Regions from separate parts of the Homo sapiens genome. Here regions 2 and 3 are each linked to region 1. Evidence: promoter capture Hi-C in 16 types of primary human blood cells and fetal thymus (Javierre and others, 2016). All regions are on one chromosome and are shown on one strand. Each heading gives the region's core, a stretch centred on a gene start or on the middle of the fragment in contact. The rest is flanking DNA. Distances are from core to core; before and after follow the strand shown.

Region 1 (3,295 bases), core at 470-2,969:
ACAAAAACGGACTTCTATTTTTCAAGAGAAGCCGTTTATGCAAAAATTCTGCACTCAAGATAGATGAGGCAACAAGAATAAGCCACTCTTAACCAGGCAAAACAGCAACACAACCACTTAACAAATCCCTCTGGGAATTCAATGGGTACAGCATATACCCCACAGTCATACCCGTAAGTGGAATTCCAGTTGGGCCCTTGTGCCGAAGCTTTAGACCACGAGGCACGTCCTCACCTCCAAGATGTAACTCATCTCAAATAATGGAGACCAGGCCACGAGGTTTCTCCCAGACACGGATTCTGTATTTGTCCTTCTGCAGCTTCCGGGAAGGTTTTTCTCCTAATAAATCCTGTAGAAAGTTCCACTCAGGGTTCTGAGGATTGATACAACCCCCTTCTTGACTGATCAGAGCTTTAGAAAGATTCGCTATGACCACAGGACTGTGTCAAGTTGAACAAGTCTCAACTTGTCGCTGCCAGTATGCAAAATAGGTCTGAAACATCTTATAACAGACAACACAGCAGACACAGTCCCTGCATCCTCAGGGCCCCCGCCCACCCACCACACACAAACACATTTCTCTAGAGTTTTTTTTTCCTAGCAAGGAACTAGCCCCAGTAGCCAGGATTCACAGTGGTGGAGTGGGCGAGAGACAGGCTAACAGCCTCTCTCTGGAAAACCTAATACCAGAAAGGAAACACCAAAACCTCATCCTCTTGTCCCTAAATCCTTGCACGTGATTTCTTCTCCTCTCTAATGTTCTAGAAGGGCCTAAAGTCAGGAGCTTAGATGAACAGAAGAATCTTCCATGCCTGCAAACCACCAGGAAAAGGCATGAGGCATCCACACACAGACGCATGCAGCTTCATGGCTGTGCTTCCTGAAAGTCTACACCCAGAACCACAAACACTGGCATAAATAAGAGCACGTTAGCAAGAGAAGGCAAACCTAATTAAATCAACAGCCCAGCCAAGAAGAATGACCATGATGAGGGTTTAGGAGCACCCAACAAACCCTCACATGCGATGCAAAAACTGAGAAAGTCTCAAAACACGGAGTTACTGAGTTTTTGGAAATCACCTTCGCCCAGCCCTGAGGGGGTGTGAGAGGAAGCGGGGAGTGATGGTCAAAGGATGGAGGGAGGATCACACATTCACAGACCTCTAGTTTCGCCAGAGGGGCCTCCAAACCACATCATGGCTCCAAATCTGTTCTGACTGCAGAGGGGTCTATTTTTAGAAATTAGTTAATATGCCTTTGATCAAGTTCATAAATCCAGAATTGCCTCTATGCACCGGCCATTCGGTGTCATCCCCCTCCCCTCACCCTCCCCAAACGCCCAAACTCGCCACCAGTCTTGAGGCTGGTGATGAGGACAGTGCACGCCTAGCACACACATATTGGATTCCGAAAGCCCCTTTCCTCCGTCCGACTACTCACAGCGCATCCCTACTCAGGGCCAAGTCTCGAGAGTTTCCAGAAACGCAGGGGACAAAATTGGAACTTACTGGAGGGCAGATCTGGCCGTGTCTCCACAGGTCACAGGGACCGCCAACATCCTTTCCGCAAGGAAATCCACTGGAAGGTGCCGGGGGTCCCGGGGCACATCTTTGCTCGCAGCTCGTCGTCGCCCCTCCTCGTCCCGGCCGCCCCGAGCCCGCCCGGCCCGCGGGCCCATGTGCTCGGCCGCCACACGCGCTCTGCCCGGAGGAGCGCGGGGCTGGCGGGTTGCCCGTGACGTCACGGCGGCTCGCGCTCGGGCCTCGGGGGAGGGGGGAGGCGCGCGCGGCCCGGCCCGCCGCGTGCGTCCTCGGTCCCGGCGCTCCCGGCCTTCCCCAGGTCCCCGCCCGCCGCCCGGTGCGCCCCTCAGCCTGCTTCCCGGCAGCGCAGGGCACTGAGCCGGAGAGGGCCGCGCGCGGAGGCGGGGCGGGCTTGGGCGACTGCGGCCGCCAAGGGCCCAGACTGGGGGAGCGGAGGGTAGGCTCTGCCCTGGGCTGGGGGTCCTCGCTACAAGCGCGCCGGAGTCCCACCGGGCCGGAGGGAATCCCCGGTGATGCCAGCTCGCTTGTGCGCCGAGCTTTCCACGGTCTTTCCCTGAGCCCTCTTACCCTTCCCCACACCGTCCTGGAAGCAAGCGGTCTTCCCACTTTCCTGCTGAGGAAGGCGAGTTCAGTGAAATAGGAGGGCCAGAGATGCTCCGGGATAGGTGCAGTTCCCGCAGAAGACCGCCGACTGAGCTCCAGCTCCAGTGATCTGAGCGCCTCTTTGGGTACCACCCAGCATCCGCCGGCCTGGTGAGAAGGGCGCGCGCACCTTCTCGCCTCCTTCGACGTCTCCCGCTGTTTCCAGAAGCCGAGTTGCAAACCCGTGCAGAGGGCCAGCGGTCTGCGCAGCTCCCTCCACTCCGGGCAGAGTTGACCTACAGAGTGTGTTCAACGAGTCCCTTAAATGCCCAGTAGTTCCTCCAAAGGAGCAAGTGGACACTGGCCTCCCATGTGGGATGTGGTTATCTTGTTCTATCTGCATAAACCCGAGACTGGACAGATGTAAGAGCTGCCCCTGTTCAGTTCAAAGTTTATTTTATTTATTTATTTATTTATTTATTTATTTATTTATTTAGAGATGAAGTTTCACTCTGTCACCCAGGCTGGAGTGCAGTGGCCCGATCATGGCTCACTGCAACCTCCGCCTGCCTGGTTCAAGCGATTCTCCTGCCTCAGCCTCCGGAGTAGCTGGGATCACAGGCGCGCGCCACCACGCCCAGCTAATTTTTGTAATTTTAGCAGAGACAAGGTTTCACCATGTTGGCCAGGCTGGTCTCGAACTCCGAACCTGAGATGATCCACTCGCTTCGGCCTCCCAAATTGCTGGGATTACAGGCGTGAGCCACCACGCCAGCGCCCGTCCAGTTCAACGTCTACTGAGCACTTAAGGGGAGTCAGGCACCCAGCTAGGCAATGGGGTGGGGGTTACTCATGGACCCTAGAAGGACGTCACAAACCAGCAAAAATTGGACACACAAATGGGTGGTATCAATATTACGGAACAGAAGGTTGCCCCTCTTCTCCCCTGCCGGCTACCCTACATCCTACTCACTCCAACCTACCCGGAGGCTCCTCCCTCTTTCTGTGTAGTGTTTCATCACATCTCTTCCCGTGGCGGCTTCTCAACGCAAATGTTCTTATTTGAAAAAGAAAAAACAATTACTCAGTTGATGCTCCTGTTCTGCCTGTTTCACAGATTCATTTACACTCATGGGCATCTCTTTTGTGCCTGGCTCCTTGCCAGGAGCTGG
Region 2 (3,295 bases), core at 333-2,832, 480 kb before region 1:
TAGGTAAGTAATCAACACAAGGAAGCTCTCTATATCACTGTTGTGGTTGACGTCACTGCTGTTGTATTTATATCATTTTATTATCTACTCTAAGTTACACATATGCTCTGCCTTAGGGTGTTCATAGCAACTCTCTTGTAAAGATAAGCAGCTAACGTCATCCTCTGTGGGCCAGAGAGGGAAAATGGGCTCACTCAGAACTACACAGCTAATCACTGGCAGAGCAGGAAGGAGCCCAAGGGCTGTCTTTATGTCACCTGCACTTCAATTTCAAATTCTTCTCCTATCACAGAGACTTTTGATTTGTGTTGATGAGGTCTGCCTCTCCACATTCTGTGAAAATAACAACATCTCCCATCTCCCCTCCCGTAAGTCCACACTAACTCAGAAGAAATTTGTTAAGCCTCTATTATATGCCATACACTGTTCCCAGGGTCTATGGAATGTCTTCCAGCAGTTTGTCCTCAAGAAGCTTCCAATCAATTGAAAAAGATAAGCACCAACCATCTGGAATAACTGCTTCTCTGAATCTAAGATTTGGAAGGGAATGGCCACCACTAGAATTTGGGATTTGTGAAACGTCAACGATTCCTCTCATCTCTACTCCTACCCCTATGTCCTCAGAATGTTCTCCTTTGTCTCAAGGTATAAGATTCCCTTGTTCAGATGCCTAGAAATTCTTTATGCTTATTTCAAATTAGATGCTTTTTTTTTTCTACTTTAAATCAGTATTGCACTGATTTAAAGCCCAGGCTTTGGGGTCAGATAGATGTGCACCTAGTTCCCATATTAGCACGAGCTTGTATATTTTACTTACCTTTGAAGAAACTAGAACTCCTGTAAAGTAAAGATGACAGATTTTTGATGGAGGATTTGAAGGAAAAAACATATATAAAGTACTTACCACAAAACTAGGCATGTGGTAGTTCTCCATAAGTAGCAGCTATTGTTAATGATTATATCATTTATATTATTATTGCTATTATTACAAAACCATGTTACTTAAGTAAACATTGTGTTAAATCTGAACGCAGAGTTTGGCAATGTTGTTACTAATATCTCTTCTGTAAATAATATTAGTGCAATTAACTGGTTATCTAGTGTAATAGACCTGAGGTCCTTGCAAATAATACAGTTATTCATAGTGCAGCTGCATAGATTAATTAAAAATTTTAAAAATATTTGTCCTTTTTTTCCTGAAGTTGCAACAGCTCAGTTTGGAAGCACTGGTCATTTCATAACCATCAGCCATAAGAAGGGGTTTGCTCCAAAGAACAGACTTATTGGAGTCAAACAGAATATTAATCCCAGCTCTGTTTCTTAGTATCAGTGTGATTGTGAGGAGTTCAGCTCCACCAGGACTCTGCTTCCTCATTTGTAAAATGGAGATGGTAATATCAACCTCCATGGGTTATTGAAGAGTCAGTGAAATAATATGTATAACAACCACTGCACTATGCAAATGCTAGTAAAATACTAGCTATTTCGCTATTCTTAAAAGATTGATTTCTGTAGTTAATATGAAACTGGAAAAAATTTTTATTATTTTATAAATATAATTATTTGGTAGATAGACTCTAAAAATAGAAGGTTCCTGATGGAATAAAATAGTGGAAGGGATGCTTGGTTTAAAAGGGTGGAAGGGAGTGTATCATAATTATTAAATACCCACTGTATGCATCCAAATAGCATACAAATACCATATTAATATTAATAGTATGTGTTATAGATCCAGACAGATCTGGATTCAAATCCTAGTTCTATTGCTTCTTAGCTGTGAGGCATTGGACAAGCTACTAAATACCTCTGGGCCTCTGCTTCCTGATCTACAGGTGCAATAACAAATATTACCTCCCTCACTGGGTTTTGATGAAGATTATGTACATGGAAGTACTTATCACAGTATCTGAGAAATATCAGGCATGTTACAAACATTCACTTTATTTTAACTATTATAATATACCAAAAAGAAAAGACAGCTTGGTCAGTGTTCTCTAGGTCAGTGCTTTAGAGAGAATAATACACTTATTTCAGGCAGAGCAGCAGTTTCAAGAGTAACATCTGAAGGTGCTGTGCCAGCTGAGAGAAGCAAGGTCTGGAACTGAAGCCCTGAGTGCTTGTAAATCAGAGAACCGTAGCAAGCAGAGGAGAACCAAGGCTAGCAGCAACCTGAAGGTGGCAGGGTGCTACACTGCCTGAAATATTAACACACATAGGGTGATCATACCTCCCAGTCTGCCCAGGTGTTACAGTATCTACTGATATGTAGCAATTCGCTCCAAATTTAGCCGCTTAACATTTTGTTCCTGTATCTGCAATTTCAACAGGACTCTGGAGGGAGAAAGAAAGAGAGAGGGGGAGGGAGAACAGCAGAGAGGAAGAGAAGAAGAAGTAAAAGGAAAGAAGGAAGAAAGAAAGGAGGGAGAAGAGAATGGATTAATAGATAGACCGACAGATAGATAATTGAAAATTACAGGATGGCAGAATTTGCTTGGACTGAAGAAAGAGATTGCAGAGAAAACCTCACCATCCCTGGTATGCTCCAAGGGAAAGGAGATTTATGTAGAGACTGAAGGTTGCCCCAGTGAACTCTGACATCCCTCTTAGCTCTCAGATTCTGTGACCCTCTTTAAGGAGCAGGCATGGTGGTGATTAACATTCCCTTTTCCCAAGATGAGTGGTGCAAGCTTTCATCTTGCAATGTTTATAAATGCCTTGAAAATGGAATGTGCCACATACACACTAAGAGCTATTATTAATATGGTGTCCAAACACCTCTCTCCACATGATAGTTAAACAACAAAGCATTAGGATGCGAGAACTTCCATAGTATGTGTGTGTGCACACACCCCAATTAAGGAATGTTCTTTATTCTCTCTCTGCCTTGGGAGAGATGGGAATACCTCACAGAGACCAGAGATGAGGCAGAATTGGGGACATGCAAGGGCCTATATAGATAATTGGGTGACAAGAGCATAATTAAGCAAACCACTTTTTATGGAGCTCCTATCTCTTGAAAGATACAGGGCTAAGTGCAATAAAAAATGTAAAAACTTAACAGTACAAGGCCTTGTCCTGGGAATAAGGATATGACAAAACATTGACCTGGTTTGTAAGGGGTTTACTCTCAGAAGATAAACTTTAAGGTGAGTTGACCAGGCCCCAAATGGAGGAAACCCAGTAGGTCAGAGCAGGTGACAAGAAAGAGAAGATCCTACTTGTAAATAACTAGGGATAAGTTATCTACAATTTTTGCTGTGATTGCAAAGGCCATAGTTTAATTTTTTTAAATTTA
Region 3 (3,295 bases), core at 326-2,825, 390 kb before region 1:
TGGAATAACCCCAACAGTGAATCACTTTCCATTTTTATGTGTTATTATGTGGCTTAAAAAATAAATAGGCAAGTGTTTGTTGAGTAAGACTGTATGAGATGCTATGGAAGGTGAGAGAACAGATAAACCAGTATCTTTCTCTCTTTTCATTTAAGTATCTTGAAATCTTGTTGTTTTCCTATATGCTTAAAAAGATAACTAGCAGTTTTAATTATATAAATTCAGATATTAAACAACAAGGGTCCTATGAACCTTTGTTGTCAGGGGAGTTTCACAAAAGCAGCAATACCTGAACTTCCCACTGAATATTAGGTTTGAACAAGTGAAATCTAGATAGGCGGGCACACCCAGAAGAGGACCACCAAAGCAAAGGCACAGACACAAGAGGAGATTGGTCCACCTGGAGTTGAGAGTTCATAATACCATGTAGGGAGAGAAAGAATTAAAAAGCATGTTGAGCCAGGGCCAGCAGCATACACCTATAGTTCCAACTAACCAGGAGGCTGAAGCAGGAAGATCCCTTGAACCTACAGGTTAAAATCTATCCTGGGTAACATTGCAAGACCCTATTTCTTAAAAGAAAGAAAAAAAAGGAAAAAGTAGGTTAAAGGTATCAAAGCAGGTTGAAATAAGTAAATGCAGAGGATTCTGAATCATAGGCAATGGGCCTTGACATTTATATGACAAGTGATGGGAATCTGAAGAAGATATTTGAACTCATTAATATGTCTAATGCCTAATAGAATGTTCAGGCTCTACCAGGTATGTTTGCTAAGTGAGCGAATGAATGAATGAATGCTGTGTATAGGATGTGCTAGCATGGAAAGAGTTAAGAGTGTATTGCAATGGCAGTCTGGATGATATAAGATGGTATTGGTAGCTGTAGAAAAGTTATGAAAAATTTGGAAGCAATGAAAAAGACACTATAAAAGGGAAAAAAGATTCTATTCCACCATTTTTTCCTGAGTGGTAATTTACATGAAAACAGTAGGAAAAAATTCTTCTAATAACCTCTAAATTCAAGAACTCATAACTCTACCAGTGGAGCTCAAGATGCTTATACATCTCTCTGGCAGTCAAAGAGCTAGTCAGGGGAAGAAAATGAGAAGCATATTTTTAAAAGCAGAAAGCAAAAATATTAAAATGCATGTTAAGCTTTGGAGGCAATATTTAACTTTTTCTCTAACTAGGTAATTGAAGCTCAATTTACTAATGGTCAATGGAGAAATGCAGGTCTTATTATTCCTGGTTTGCGATGGGAATACTGAGGGTCAAAGAAGCCCAACATTTCACAATGACTTGATTCCAGGTACATTTATTCTAAGACCTGTATTTTGTTTTGTATTATCACATGTCACAGAAGACTTGAGGAAGAAAAGAGAAAAAAAGATGAGAAAGATTCAATTCTAGGAAGTCTCCTTAGTAGATGTCTCAGGAAATACATGATGGGACTGTATTATACTGAGGACCCATAGTTGAGCATATATAAAACTTTTCTCTCTGCACAGGTGTAGCACTCTTCTGTTTACCTAGGAGAATTTGCAGTGAATGATAATCCATTTTCTCTCCCAAGAGTTGGTAAACTGATTTTGTTTGTTTGTTACTTTTGAAATGCACAGACTGCATATATGTAGTTGGTGCTTTTTTACAAGGCTCTGTTGGGTCAATAAAGACGCTCCTTTTCCATTTCTCCTCCCTGCGTCTTACAGCCATCACATTCCAGCAGACACTAGGGAGCTCTCACCCAAGCCAATAAGCCGCAGAATTACCTAAAGCTACAATCATTCCCATCAAATAAGATCTTGCAGTTTGGAACAAGTCCCATAGCTTCAGCAATTTGGCTTCTTGGCCAGAGCCAAAAATGCTGATTTCCCCTCCCTGGAAGGTTTAGAAACCTGGGATGCACCATGGATGGGGTGCTCCTTGTGTTCTCTGCATCCTTCTTCATGACACAGGATCTGCTGAAGAGATGACTGAGGCTTCATAAAAGCTTTATGAGACACAGTGGAACAGAAAGGCTTTGAGCCACCATCACCTTTGTAAAGTCCAGCTGCTGCCATCAGCTCTGCAATAAAAGCTGAACAGAAAGGTTGGCCACATCCCACAAGTAATGCTTCTTTATTGTGATTCATTCAGAAACACCGAGTTCCACTGAGAAGCTGGGGATAGTCCAGAGGCAGCCTCAACCAAAACTAGCTACTTCTTTGAAATTATCATCCGAGAAATGTGCTTGAGTTTTAAGCCCCAACGGCTGGTTGCATCCCACTGGTCACTCCTGAGGTTAATATCCCTGCGCCTGTAGCACTGACTGCCTTTTCTCGAGTCCCCTGCTAACCCACCATCCAGTCTTACTTCCCTACAAAAAAAAAAAAAAAAAAAAAAAAGGCTTCTTTTTAAAAGCAAAAACCCAGAATTAATATGATGCATAAAAACTATTATAGCCGAAAGTGATGACTCACACTTGTAATCCCAGCACTTTGGGAGGCCGAGGCAGGTGGATCACCTGAGGTCAGGAGTTCCAGACAAGCCTGGCCAACATGGTGAAACCCCATCTCTATCAAAAATACAAAAATTAGCTGGGTATGGTGGCAGGTGCCTGTAATCCTAGGTATTTAGGAGTCTGAGGCAGGAGAATCGCTTGAACCTGGGATGAGGAGGTTGCAGTGAGCTGAGATCATGCCATTGCACTCCAGCCTGGGCAATAAGAGCAAAACTCCATCAAAACAAACAAACAAACAAAAAAACACACAAAAATCAAAACAAAACAAAAAACTATTATAGACTAGATTGGCCAGACAGAATGCAGCAACACAGTGGTGCTCATTGAAGGATCATGGTCATGCCAGGATTTTGCTCTCATTCCTATAAGCAGCAAAAGTTCCAGAGACATCATTCTTCTTTTTAGCCCAAGTTCACCGTACAAAAGTTTTCCTTTCTTATGTTTACCTAGAAGTTAAAAAAAAAAAGGGAAGAGGGAGATTGAAATTATTGCCATAGATTATTGGGAAAGAAACTTGAACTTGGTAAAGTCTTTTTGTAGAATAATTAGGGAGTATTCATCAAAACCTTAAAAAGTGCAGGCCCTTTAAACCAGAAACACCACTACTAGCTATTTATTCTGTGTTAATGGGCACAGAGCTAGGGATTGAGTCTACAGGGTTAAGGTGCTCCCAGTTTCATGGTAAAAATAGCAAGAGACTGTGGATTATGGACATGGCAGCCCTGTGACTGATGACCCATAGATGCAGAAAGCAGAATGCTCCAGACTCTGTCCATGAGAGGAAGGCCATGCCTA

What was found. The method cuts DNA at HindIII sites, captures the fragments that hold promoters and counts their contacts. A CHiCAGO score of 5 or more calls a contact.
Region 2: a contact is called between a fragment that was not itself captured here and the fragment with the promoter of PVT1 in region 1, in 1 of 17 cell types (total B cells). The highest score is 6.1, in total B cells.
Region 3: a fragment that was not itself captured here is called in contact with the fragment with the promoter of PVT1 in region 1 in 2 of 17 cell types (total B cells and naive B cells); the score reaches 6.5 in total B cells.

Annotation. Positions count from the first base shown.
Region 1 is chr8:127,792,948-127,796,242 of GRCh38, reverse strand. PVT1 (Pvt1 oncogene) reads right to left here and starts at 1,719. Exons shown (of 9, transcript NR_190187.1): 1 at 1,509-1,719. It overlaps MIR1204 (microRNA 1204), which reads right to left and starts at 281; the gene lies at 215-281. RefSeq lists enhancers at 244-583, 684-733, 455-1,026, 1,027-1,596, 2,739-3,295 and silencers at 1,714-1,873, 1,884-1,943, 1,964-2,013. The HindIII fragment of the contact is 6,547 bases long and covers 211-3,295 here.
Region 2 is chr8:128,268,560-128,271,854 of GRCh38, reverse strand. No RefSeq gene overlaps it. Among named protein-coding and RNA genes, the nearest start is that of MIR1208, 120 kb to the right of the region's middle. The HindIII fragment of the contact is 2,215 bases long and covers 475-2,689 here.
Region 3 is chr8:128,186,207-128,189,501 of GRCh38, reverse strand. It overlaps LOC124902020 (a long non-coding RNA gene), which reads right to left. Exons shown (of 5, transcript XR_007061107.1): 5 at 2,740-2,946. Among named protein-coding and RNA genes, the nearest start is that of MIR1208, 38 kb to the right of the region's middle. The HindIII fragment of the contact is 835 bases long and covers 1,158-1,992 here.